2 separate regions of the Homo sapiens genome follow, and region 1 is linked to region 2. The links are contacts of gene promoters, found by promoter capture Hi-C in blood cells and fetal thymus (Javierre and others, 2016). All regions are on one chromosome and are shown on one strand. Each heading gives the region's core, a stretch centred on a gene start or on the middle of the fragment in contact. The rest is flanking DNA. Distances are from core to core; before and after follow the strand shown.

What was found. Contacts are between HindIII fragments. The CHiCAGO score rates a contact against its expected background, and 5 or more counts as called.
Region 1: a contact is called between a fragment that was not itself captured here and the fragment with the promoter of IRF2BPL in region 2, in 4 of 17 cell types (naive B cells, total B cells, naive CD8 T cells and 1 more). The highest score is 8.7, in naive B cells.

What each region holds. Positions count from the first base shown.
Region 1 is chr14:77,589,089-77,595,078 of GRCh38, reverse strand. The region is part of intron 2 of SPTLC2 (serine palmitoyltransferase long chain base subunit 2); the gene reads left to right. Among named protein-coding and RNA genes, the nearest start is that of SPTLC2, 25 kb to the left of the region's middle. The HindIII fragment of the contact is 2,386 bases long and covers 1,660-4,045 here.
Region 2 is chr14:77,027,458-77,032,313 of GRCh38, reverse strand. It overlaps IRF2BPL (interferon regulatory factor 2 binding protein like), which reads left to right and starts at 3,606. Exons shown (of 1, transcript NM_024496.4): 1 at 3,606-4,856. The coding sequence starts at 4,522. LOC107984638 (a long non-coding RNA gene) reads right to left here and starts at 4,846. Exons shown (of 4, transcript NR_190002.1): 1 at 4,503-4,846; 2 at 2,834-3,026; 3 at 2,578-2,653; 4 at 742-2,487. It overlaps LOC105370579 (a long non-coding RNA gene), which reads left to right. Exons shown (of 2, transcript NR_169510.1): 2 at 1-755. RefSeq lists an enhancer at 2,033-2,553 and silencers at 3,317-3,446, 3,647-3,856, 3,977-4,476. The HindIII fragment of the contact is 11,624 bases long and covers 1-4,856 here.

The DNA.
Region 1 (5,990 bases), core at 1,603-4,102, 560 kb before region 2:
ATTTTTAATACGTTTTGATCCCCCTTCTCCCCCTGAGCATGTCCACTCAGAGTGCATCTACAGTACGTTGATTTTGTATAGCCCTCAGTGACAGCTTACCATACCCTTCCTAGGTTGTACAGTATTGTAGTTACTTGTTCACAGGCCTGTATCCTCCTACTAGACTGAGTTGATGGCAGTTATGACCGATGGTAGCTGAAGTTTTATTTAAATATTCAAACTAAAAACTCTTTATCTGCAGGGACCTCTCCTAGTGTAGATGCATAGTCGAAACTTGATAATTGACGTGTATTGCTGGTGGTGAGGGAAGTGCTGATTGTGGTGCAGACAGCACATTCCTGGATGAGGGGATAGTATAGGCAAAGGCATGAAGAATGTTTGGGAGAATCTGGAATGTAGACAGAAGAGAAATTGTGTTTTGAAAATCAAAGTAAGAAGTTTGGTAGGCAATGAGGAGTATTGTTTTTGTTTTTGTTTTTAAATAGAGACAGCGTCTCGCCATGTTGCCCAGGCTGGTCTCAAACTCCTGTGCTCAAGCGATCCTCCTGCCTTGGCCTCCCAAAGTGTTGGGATTATAGGAGTGAGCCACCATGACCCCAAGGGCAGTTTTTGATCAGGGGATTTTTCATACAGCTTGTGCAGCTGGTGCTCAAAGTGTGATGAATGAATGAAACCAACAAGATGTATCTGAATTACTTTGTGAGTACATTATCTTTGGAACTTGTTTCATGTTTACAGAAAGTAAATTGGTGGTTTAAGTGTTGGGAGCTGCCTGTGTATCCTTTGTGTGAAAGAATTAGAACACACAGATTTTATTCTTAAGTAGTTTCTAATTTTGTTGAGGAAACAAACATTTGAAAGTTATGGGCCTTTGCAAAACCATTATACAAGTAAATAATACTTAGATTATATGAAGATATAGAACAAAAAAAGTATCTGAGTAGCATAGGGTTAATCAGGAAACAATTCTTGGAGGAAGTAATACAAGGAAATGGGAGGCTGAGGAGAGCATTTGCCTCTGCAGTTTATGGAGAGGATTTTATTAAATTATTCAAATTCATTTCAATAGAATATTCCCAGTAGATAACATTAGCATTTAAAACAGCCAACTTCTGCCATTTTCTTACAAAAATTCAGCTTTTAGAGGGAAAGGAAAAGTCATTCCTTTCCTGTGATAGATCATGTTTGTTTTCTAATGTTGGATTAGAGATGGGGAAAGAGGGAGGCAAATTAAGTGTTAAACTGGAAGGAGGTGAGGGAAAGTGGTTGCTTGGGATCATAAAATGCAAACATAATGTTGCTACTTCCTCATTTCACTGAGAGAGTGGTATTCATAACCACATCCTGGTTTTCTTCCTCATTTCATTATAAAAGAGAGCCCAGTTTAACTGTGTTAATTCTTTGATGTAAGGAAATACCGTATGTTGCTTTGAATACAACTAAATCACATGATCATACCAATAAAGATGAGTTACCATGAGTTTGTTCTATTTTATATACATTGCATAAAATTCTTGGAATTCTTTACCCCTTAATCCTCTGTTATTCGTGGTGTTTTGGATGAGAATGTTGTTTTTCTCAATCTATGGATTATTTCTTTGTGATGTGAGGTGAAGCTAGTAGTTCAGAAACACGTACGTGACAGATACAGCAAAAGCTTGAATTAATAAAGATGTTCTAGGCTGAGGCAGGAGGATCACTCAAGGCCAGGAGTTTGAGACCAGCTGACACAACATAATGAAACCTCATCTCTACAAAATGAAAAAATTTAATTCAGAAAAAAATATTCTAATATTTAGATAGGAAATAGCTAGGAACGTAAGGAGTAAATTATGGTAGGTAGTTACCACACACTGACAAAATTTTAAACTAACATTTTGCCTCCACAGCTTGTTCATGATCAGATATTTAAAAACGGGAGGACCAAATACCACATTCTCACTTATTTTTTAATTTTTTTAATTTTTTTTTTTTTTGAGATGGAGTCTCACTCTGTCGCCCAGGCTGGAGTACAGTGGCGTGATCTCGGCTCACTGCAATCTCCGCCTCCACGGTTCAAGTGATTCTCTTGCCTCAGCCTCCCAAGTAGCTGGAATTACAGTCATGCACCACCACGCCCAGCTAATTTTTTGTATTTTTAGTAGATACAAGGTTTCACCATGTTGGCCAGCCTGGTCTCAAACTCCTGACCTCAGCCTGCCTTGGCCTCCCAAAGTGCTGGGATTACAGGAGTGAGCCACCGTGCCTAGCCTGTTCTCACTTATAAGTGGGAGCTAAATGATGAGAACATATGGATACAAAGAGGAAAATGACACTTGTGGTGGGTAGGAAGAGGGAGAGGATTAGAAAAAATAACCCATTGGGTGCTAGGCTTAGTACCTGGGTGACAAAATAATCTGTACAACAAGCCATTGTGATGCGAGTTTACCTGCACAACCTGCACACGTACCCCTGAACCTAAAATAAAAGTTACAAAAAATAAGTAGATTAAAAATGGGAGGGATAGGATACGGCGAAGGGACATTATATGTTTATATCCCAATAGGCTTATTTTCAAGATACAAAAGAAAGAAAGAAATTCAAATACATTACTAGGAATTCCCAGAGGGATTTTATTCTTGGCCTCCTTCAAAAAGTAGCGTACAGCCGGGTGCGATGGCTCACACCTATAATCCCAGCACTTTGGGAGGCCGAGGTGGGTGGATCACCTGAGGTCAGGAGTTCAAGACCAGCCTGGCCAACGTGATGAAACCCCATCTCTACTAAAAATACAAAAATTAGCCAGGCGTGGTGGTGGGCACCTGTAATCCCAGCTACTTGGGAGGCTGAGGCAGGAGAATGGCTTGAACCTGGGAGGCGGAAGTTGCAGTAAGCTGAGATCTTGTCACAGCACTCCAGCCTGGGCAATAGAGACTGTCTCAAAATAAAAAAAAAAAAGTAGCGTACTAAGAATATTCTGGTACCTGTCATTTTGGTGCATTAAGCTAGGGGATTGATTGTTTGGTTTGTCTTCTTTAATTCTGTGTATGATTCTACATTTAAAAAGAACACAACTGGCTGGGCACGGCGGCTCACGTCTATAATCCTAGCACTTTGGGAGGCCAAGGCGGGCGGATCACCTGAAGTCAGGAGTTGAGACCAGCCTGACCAACATGGTGAAACCCGGTCTCTACTAAAAATACAAGAATTATCTGGGGCGTGGTGGCACATGCCTGTAATCCCTGCTACTTGGGAGGCTGAGGCACGAGAATCACTTGAACCAGAGAGGTGGAGGTTGCAGTGAGCCAAGATCACACCATTGCACTCCAGCCTGGGCAACAAGAGAGAAACTCCGTCTAAAAATAAATACATACATACATACATACATACATACATACATACATACAGAAGAGCACTACTTAGCTCCCCCAGAATCATCTGAACCTGGGAGGTGGAAGTTGCAGTGAGCTAAGATTGCACCACTGCACTCCACCCTGGACAATGGAGCGAGATTGTCTAAAAAAAATAAGAAGAATAAAAAATAAAGAGCACTGTATTTCATTGTTTTGTGTTAGTTGCTGGGCACAGGACAGCAGTAGTCTTTTTAAATAATTGACATATCATAAAGGTTACCTATTTAAAGTGTACGATACAATGGTTTTTAGTATATCTACAGAGTTGTGCAGCCAGCACCACAATTTAATTTTGTAATGTTTTTCTCTTCTGAAAAAGAAACCATGAACCATTAGCAGTCACTCCTTCCTCATCCACCCTCCCCACCCTCGGCAGCCACTAATCTACTTTCTGTCTCTGTAGATTTACTATTCGGGACTTTTCATATAAATGGATGTTTCATGTAAATGGGATCATACAGTGTATGTTCTTCTGTGTCTGGCTCCTTTCACTTGGCGTAATGTATTTGAAGTTCATGTTGTAGCATGTATCGGTACTTCATTGCTTCCTATTGCTGAATAATATTTCATCATATGGAGCAGTCATCTCTACTTACTATAGGGATTTCTCACTGGTAAAAAACTATACTCAAAATAAACCTTTCAAAGAAGCTTTGTGTAGTAGGTTTACCACTGTATCTGTTTGGACTAGTGGCAGTAGGTTTACCTCTGTATCCGTTTGGACTAGTGCCAGTGTTAGGTTTGCAAGAGTTTCCCTGTTACCTGTTTTCCCTGTTTTTCATGCCAGGAAAGCTTTTCCTTCAAATAGTCCCATGGCTAGTTCCCTCACTTCCATTTTATCCTCTGTTCTACCCAGGGCACCCCAGCTAATTTGCAGCATGTCTCCCCCTTTCCTTTTTGCTTTTGTTTCTGTTGGTATTTGTCACTGTCTAACATACTTTATTTATTTTTATTTTTATTTATTTTTATTTTCTTGAGACAGTGTCTTGCTCTGTTGCCCAGGCTGGAGTGCAATGGCGCGATCTCGGCTTACTGCAACTTCTGTCTCCCAGGTTCAAGCAATTCTCCTGCCTCAGCCTCCAGAGTGGCTGGGACTACAGGCATGTGCAACCACACCTAATTTTTGTGTTTTTAGTAGAGACAGGGCTTTGCCATGTTGGCCAGGCTGGTCTTGAACTCCTGGGCTCATGTTTATCTATCTGCCCACCTCGGCCTCCCAAAGTGCTGGGATTACAGGCGTGAGCCACTGAGCCTGGACTAGCAAACTTTGTATTTTATATGTTTATCTCTTCCACCAGAATACAAATTCCAAGAGGGCAAGGATTATTACCTTTTTGTTTACTACTCTGTACTATAGAGTGCTTGGCACATATTAGACGCTCGGTAAATGTTTAAGATACAAGGCCAGAGGCCAGGCGTGTTAGCTCACACCTGTAATTTCAAGCACTTTGGGAGGCTGAGGTGGGAAGATAGCTTGAGCGCAGGAGTTTGAGACCAACCTGAGCAATGTAACAAGACCCTGTCTCAACAAGAAAATTAAAAAATTAGCTGGGTGTGGTGGCCTACACCCATAGTCTTAGCTACTTGGGAGACTGAGGTGGGAGGATCACTTGTACCTAGGAGTTCAAGGCTGCTGTGAGCTGTGATTGAGCCACTGCACTCTAGCCTGGGTGACAGAGTGAAACCTTGTCTTTTTTTTTTTTTTTTTTGAGACAGGGTCTTGCTCTATCATCCAGGCTGGAGTGCAATCGCATGATCTCAGCTCACTGCAGTCTCTGCCTTCTGGGTTCAAGTGATTCTCATGCCTCAGCCTCCTGAGTAGCTGGGACTGCAGGCGTGCACCACCACGCCCAGCTAATTTTTTGTATTTGTGTGTGTGTGTGTGTGTGTGTGTGTGGAGACGGACTCTCGCTCTGTCGCCCAGGATGGAGTGCAATGGCGCAATCTTGGCTTACTGCAACCTCTGCCTCCCGGGCTTAAGCGATTCTTCTGCCTCAGTCTCCCAAGTAGCTGGGATTACAGGCATCTGCCATAACACCTGGCTAATTTTTGTATTTTTAGTAGAGACAGGGTTTCACCATGTTGGCCAGGCTGGTCTTGAACTCCTAACCTTAGGTAATCTGCCCACCTCGACCTCCCAAAGTACTGGGATTACAGGCATGAGCCACCGTGCCTGGCCATTATCTCTAAAAAAAAAAAAAAAAGTTTAAGATATGAATGGTATTGTGAGTGGTGGTAACAGTAACAATGTAAAGTATTTTGAAGTATTTGTAGTCGAGGTAGGTGTGTACGTACACACATGCACACACAAACATACAAATGACTGTTTTAGATGTAGGAAAAACCAGTGTTTTTTTATCTTGAAATCTCATTCTGCGCTTTCATGGACAGCATAGAAACAGCAAGGAAGTGGCTTCCTGTTTTTAACATTAAAAACAGGAAAGGACAGACGGTGGTATGACCTATATGAACAGTAAGGAAAGTCGTTAATTAACCATGGTTGAAAGGTTTAAAAGTTGTAGTCTGAAAACCTTTCATTGAGTATTTCACCTACTTTTCTTCATTAAGTAGAGATAAAAACAGAATTATTGGTTTATA
Region 2 (4,856 bases), core at 2,357-4,856:
GTTTTATAAATGAAAGGATTATGAGTCTGTAATGGAAGTCTGTTTAAATACACGTTGATTTCTAACTCAGTGTGTCTGAAGGCACCCCAGCATGTATGTGTGTATATATATCTCCTTTAGTAACAGTGAAGACAGAGACAGACAGGGAGATGGAGACATATGTGTGTGCATACCAAACATAACACCATGACATAGAATCCAACTTGCTTTCTCTAGCAGCCTGGCTGGAGGGTTGTGGCTAAGTTGCTATTTCCCTAATATTTTTGGTTTAATAAAGGGAAGGGCTGAATAAATATTAATGTAAAGAAATGGGTCACCCAACCGAGCCAAAGCTAAGGAGCCCCAGGCTGGCGGGGATGTCAAACCATTTCCCACCCCTATGTTTTGACTCACTCCAGGGTAGCGGTAGTGTGGGGAGGGCTGAAGTCTGGGAGAGTGAGGCAATGCTCCCCAAGCAACTCTTTGCAGAGGAATCACTGCAAAGTGCCAGCAGGCCAGAGAAAGTTTATTATTGCTCTAGAGTGCACAGTGAGCTCACTGTTTTGCAAAAACAGAAATCTGGCTGCTTTGAGATGAAAGAGGGGCTCCCTAGGGCTCCTCCTCCTCTTCTGTCCTTAAAAACTCGCCTTTCCTTTGCACTCAGGGGCCCCAGAATGAGTGGGAGATTGGGGCTCTGGGGAGGGTTGGATAGGGGAACAGGCTCTGGAAGTCAAGTGTCAAAATAAAAGTAAGTATCTCTTGTTGCTTCCACTGAACTTTATTGCAATTACTAGTAATAAGAGTGATAATAGTGATCCTCACAATTTATGCAGTTTACTAAGTACTGTCACATGTCAACCAGCAATAGTACCAACACTAGTATCAATACTAATAATAACTAACACTAACTGTGAGTCCAACACTGCTCTCCATTCTGTATGGTGTATTTAAGTTACAGTCTGGTAGTGACAGATCTACAACTTCTGTATATAGAACTCAGTGGTACAAATGCGCTTGGAAGGGGAGGCTGGGGGTTGGTTATGAAGGTGTATTGGCATAGTACTTACGTAAGATTGTATGTAACACCAAATCAACTGGGGCTGATGGGAATTTTGAGCACCCCAAACCACCTCTGCAAGCCTGAGCTTGTCAAAGACACCTCAAATCAGATTTACTGGATTCAAATCCCAGCCCCATCACTAATGGCTGTAGGCAAGTTATATAGCCTCTTTACTTTCCTGGTTTGTAAAATGGAGGTAAAAGAATCTACCCTGTAGATAATATTAAGGGTTTAATACTGTAATAGGCCGGTCACGGTGGGTCATGCCTGTAATCCCAGCACTTTGGGAGGCTGAGGCGGGAGGATCACCTGAGGTCAGGAGTTCGAGACCAGCCTGGCCAACATGGTGAAAGTCCGTCTCTACTAAAAATACAAAAATGAGCTGGGTGTGGTGGCGGGCGCCTGTATCCCCAGGTACTTGGGAGACTGAGGCAGGAGAATTGCTTGAACCTGGGAGGTGGAGGTTGCAGTGAGCTGAGATTGCGTCACTGTACTCCAGCCTGGGTGACAGAGTGGACTCTGTCTCAAAACAACAACAAAATACTATAGATAATATCCCCTTAATAATGTAGATAATATTAAGGGTGATGCAAGTAAAGCCACCTAGTTTACTAAGGTCCCACGGCAAGTCTAAGTAAGCGTTATCTCTTCTTATGACAAGAAACAAATTGAGGCCGGGTGAGGTGGCTCATGCCTGTAATCCCAACACTTTGGGAGGCCAAGGTGGGTGCATCACTTGGGCCCAGGAGTTTGAGACCAGCCTGGGCAACACGGCAAAACCCCATCCCTTTCCAAAAATACAAAAAAATTGGCCAGGTGTAATGGCACATGCCTGTAGTCCCAGCTACTAGGGAGGCTGAGGTGGGAGGATTACTTGAGCCTGGGAGGTCAGGCTGCTGCCAGCCGCGAGTGTGCCACTGCACTCCAGCCTGGGCAACAGAACAAGATCCTATCTCAAAAAAACAAAAAACCGAAGTTGAAATCTCAAACAACCCTAACAACCTGGGAGCTATCATTCCATTCTCTTTTCCATGGAAAAGAGAGATTTTGTGGGTAACTAGCTTAAGGGTGGAGAGCCAGTTAGTGATGGAGAGGAAATTTCAATCTGGTGGGCCACACTTCAGAATCCGAAATCCCATTATATTGCTTTCCCTTCTCCAGCCTTCCCTGGGATTATCTCAGTTTTCATGAAATAAAAAAAAAAAAAAAAGCAAACCCAATAATTAGAATAATCAATAGAAATGCCCCAACTAGAGCTATGACCAACATATCCATCGTGCCATAAGCAATACTGATGAGCAGTGATCTTGTAAGGCAGAAGAAATCACGGCCTTGGCCGGGCGTGGTGGTTCATGCTTGTAATCCCAGCACTTTGGAAGGCCGAGGCGGGAGGATCACCTGAGGTCAGGAGTTCAAGACCAGCTGGCTAACATGGTGAAACCATGTCTCTACAAAAATACAAAAAATTAGCTGGGCCTGATGGCGGGTGCCGGTAATCACAGCTACTTGGGAGGCTGAGGCGGAAGAATCGCTTGAACCTGCGAGGCAGAGGTTGCAGTGAGCCGAGATCGCGCCATTTTGCACTCCAGCCTGGGCGACAGAGCAAGACTCCGTCTTAAAAAAAAAAAAAAAAAAAAATCACGGCCTTGTTCCGCCTTCTGGGGCAACATGGAGTGAGATCACAGCGCCTGAGAAAGAACTTTGAAAACTGCGGCTGTGCTTTACAAAAATGTATCAGTATTATTAAATGCTGCCTCCACCTTTTAAAAATCAAACTCTAGAAAAAACACTCACCTGTTTGGCCTCTCCGGCCCCTCCCCCTCCCTGCCCTGAACTGCAGCTGTGCGCAGCCAGTTGCCTGTTTTCCTTAAAGGCCTCGGGGTGCTCGTATCTTCTTCAGACGTTCAGCCAAAATTTTTAAAGTGCGGCTGGGGGGAAGGGTAGCGCACTCTGAATTCATTTAGCTCTATCGTTGAAGCCCGGGTTCCTAGATCAGGGCACAAAAACAAATAGAAAAGACAATTTCTGGAAGATTGGAAAACAGCTAATTTTGCAGGTGCTTCGGCATCAGTGGTGGCGATGAATTTAACATCCATGCCGGGGGGGATAAGGTTCAACCGCAGATGAAATGGTTAATACCTTATACGAAATTCACGGCGAAAAATCCTGAAACAGGACATTTAAATTCACTGCCGAGGCTTGGGGGTGGGGTGGGGAGCAGGGATCGGAAACGACGCTAGTGGTTCTTAAATGCGTTTTTACTTGGGAATGCCCGGCAGGGAAAGGAAAGGTCATCGTCTGTTTAATTTCCACCCCCAGCTCTGGACTTCCAGCATTAGCTCGCCGGGCCTCAGCTGTTGTACACACACGGCGAGGGGGGAGGGGAGGGCGGAGGCGCGGAGGAGGGGCCGGCTGGGAGGAATCTGGGCGTCCTGCCGCGCATGCGCCTTGCCTGAGCAACAAGTGGGCTCCACAGAGGAAGTGTAAAGGGGAGGGGGAAGAACTGGTGCAGAGCATGGCGGTGACGTCAGCGCTCCGCCCGGGCGGCATCCCGCGCGGCCAAGCCGGGGACAGCGCGAGCCGCAGCCGGAGCAGGAGCGCCGAGACGCGCCTCCGGAACGTAGAGTAACAATCACAACCCCACATTCCGGGCGAGCGTGAGCACGAGCGGGAAGGGATGCGACCCGGGCCGAGGCGCCGCGCGAGCGCCCTGCAGCCAACGTGAGCGCCGCCAGCCGCGGCGGCCCGGGCGCCGGCCAGGCCTGGGGGCGGCGGGAGCCTGCGTGCGTGCACTCCTCTCCTCTGCTCTCGTGCGTCCTGGAAGCAGTGGCCGCGGCGGCTCCCTCCGGGGTGCAAACCCAGTCGCCGCCAGCAGAACGGCCGACGCTGCGGAGGGGAGAAGGTCCTTTCTCGGCTGCCACCCCCTCCCCCGGTCCTCCGGGGAAGCAGCGGCTTCAGCAAGATTGGACCCGGGCACCGGGTGGCACTGAACCCTCTGGCCCTCGCCCCAGGGGGCCCGTCGGGGAGAGGACGCAGCTCGTAGGGGGGTCCCCGGGGAGAGGAAGAGACAGCCCCTTTCGAGCTTCCACGCACCAGCCACTCCGGGGAGGGGGCCAAGAGGCAACGGCGGCCACCACCGGGCACCCTCGCCCCCTCCCCTCGGGCCGGGAGCTTCCAGCCCAAGTCTGCAGCACCAGGAAGAAGGCGCCTGAGCTCCCCTCGCGACGAGTCAACCGCAGTAGGAGGTGGGGGCGAAGAGAGGGCTGAACCCGTCCGCTGCCCGGGCGGTGGAGCCCCCACGGCGAGGCGCTGCGCCGGCGGTGGAGACTCGCGTTCCCTCCAGCCCCTGGGGCAGAACTTTCTCGCCCCCCCTCCTCCCTCCCCCGCAGTCGGACTCCCTCCCCAGCCGGCCAGTCCTCCCGGAGGAGAAGGCGCCGCGGAGACAGCCCGGGCGGGGGCCTACCTTCCCCAGGGCAGGCATCATGTCGGCGGCGCAGGTGTCCTCGTCCCGGAGACAATCTTGCTACCTGTGCGACCTGCCCCGCATGCCCTGGGCCATGATCTGGGACTTCTCGGAACCCGTATGCCGCGGTTGCGTCAACTACGAGGGCGCTGATCGCATCGAATTCGTGATCGAGACAGCGCGCCAGCTGAAGCGGGCGCACGGCTGCTTCCAGGACGGCCGCTCCCCCGGGCCGCCGCCGCCCGTCGGGGTCAAGACAGTGGCCCTGTCGGCTAAGGAAGCGGCGGCGGCGGCGGCAGCAGCGGCGGCCGCCGCCGCCGCCGCGCAACAGCAACAGCAACAGCAGCAGCAGCA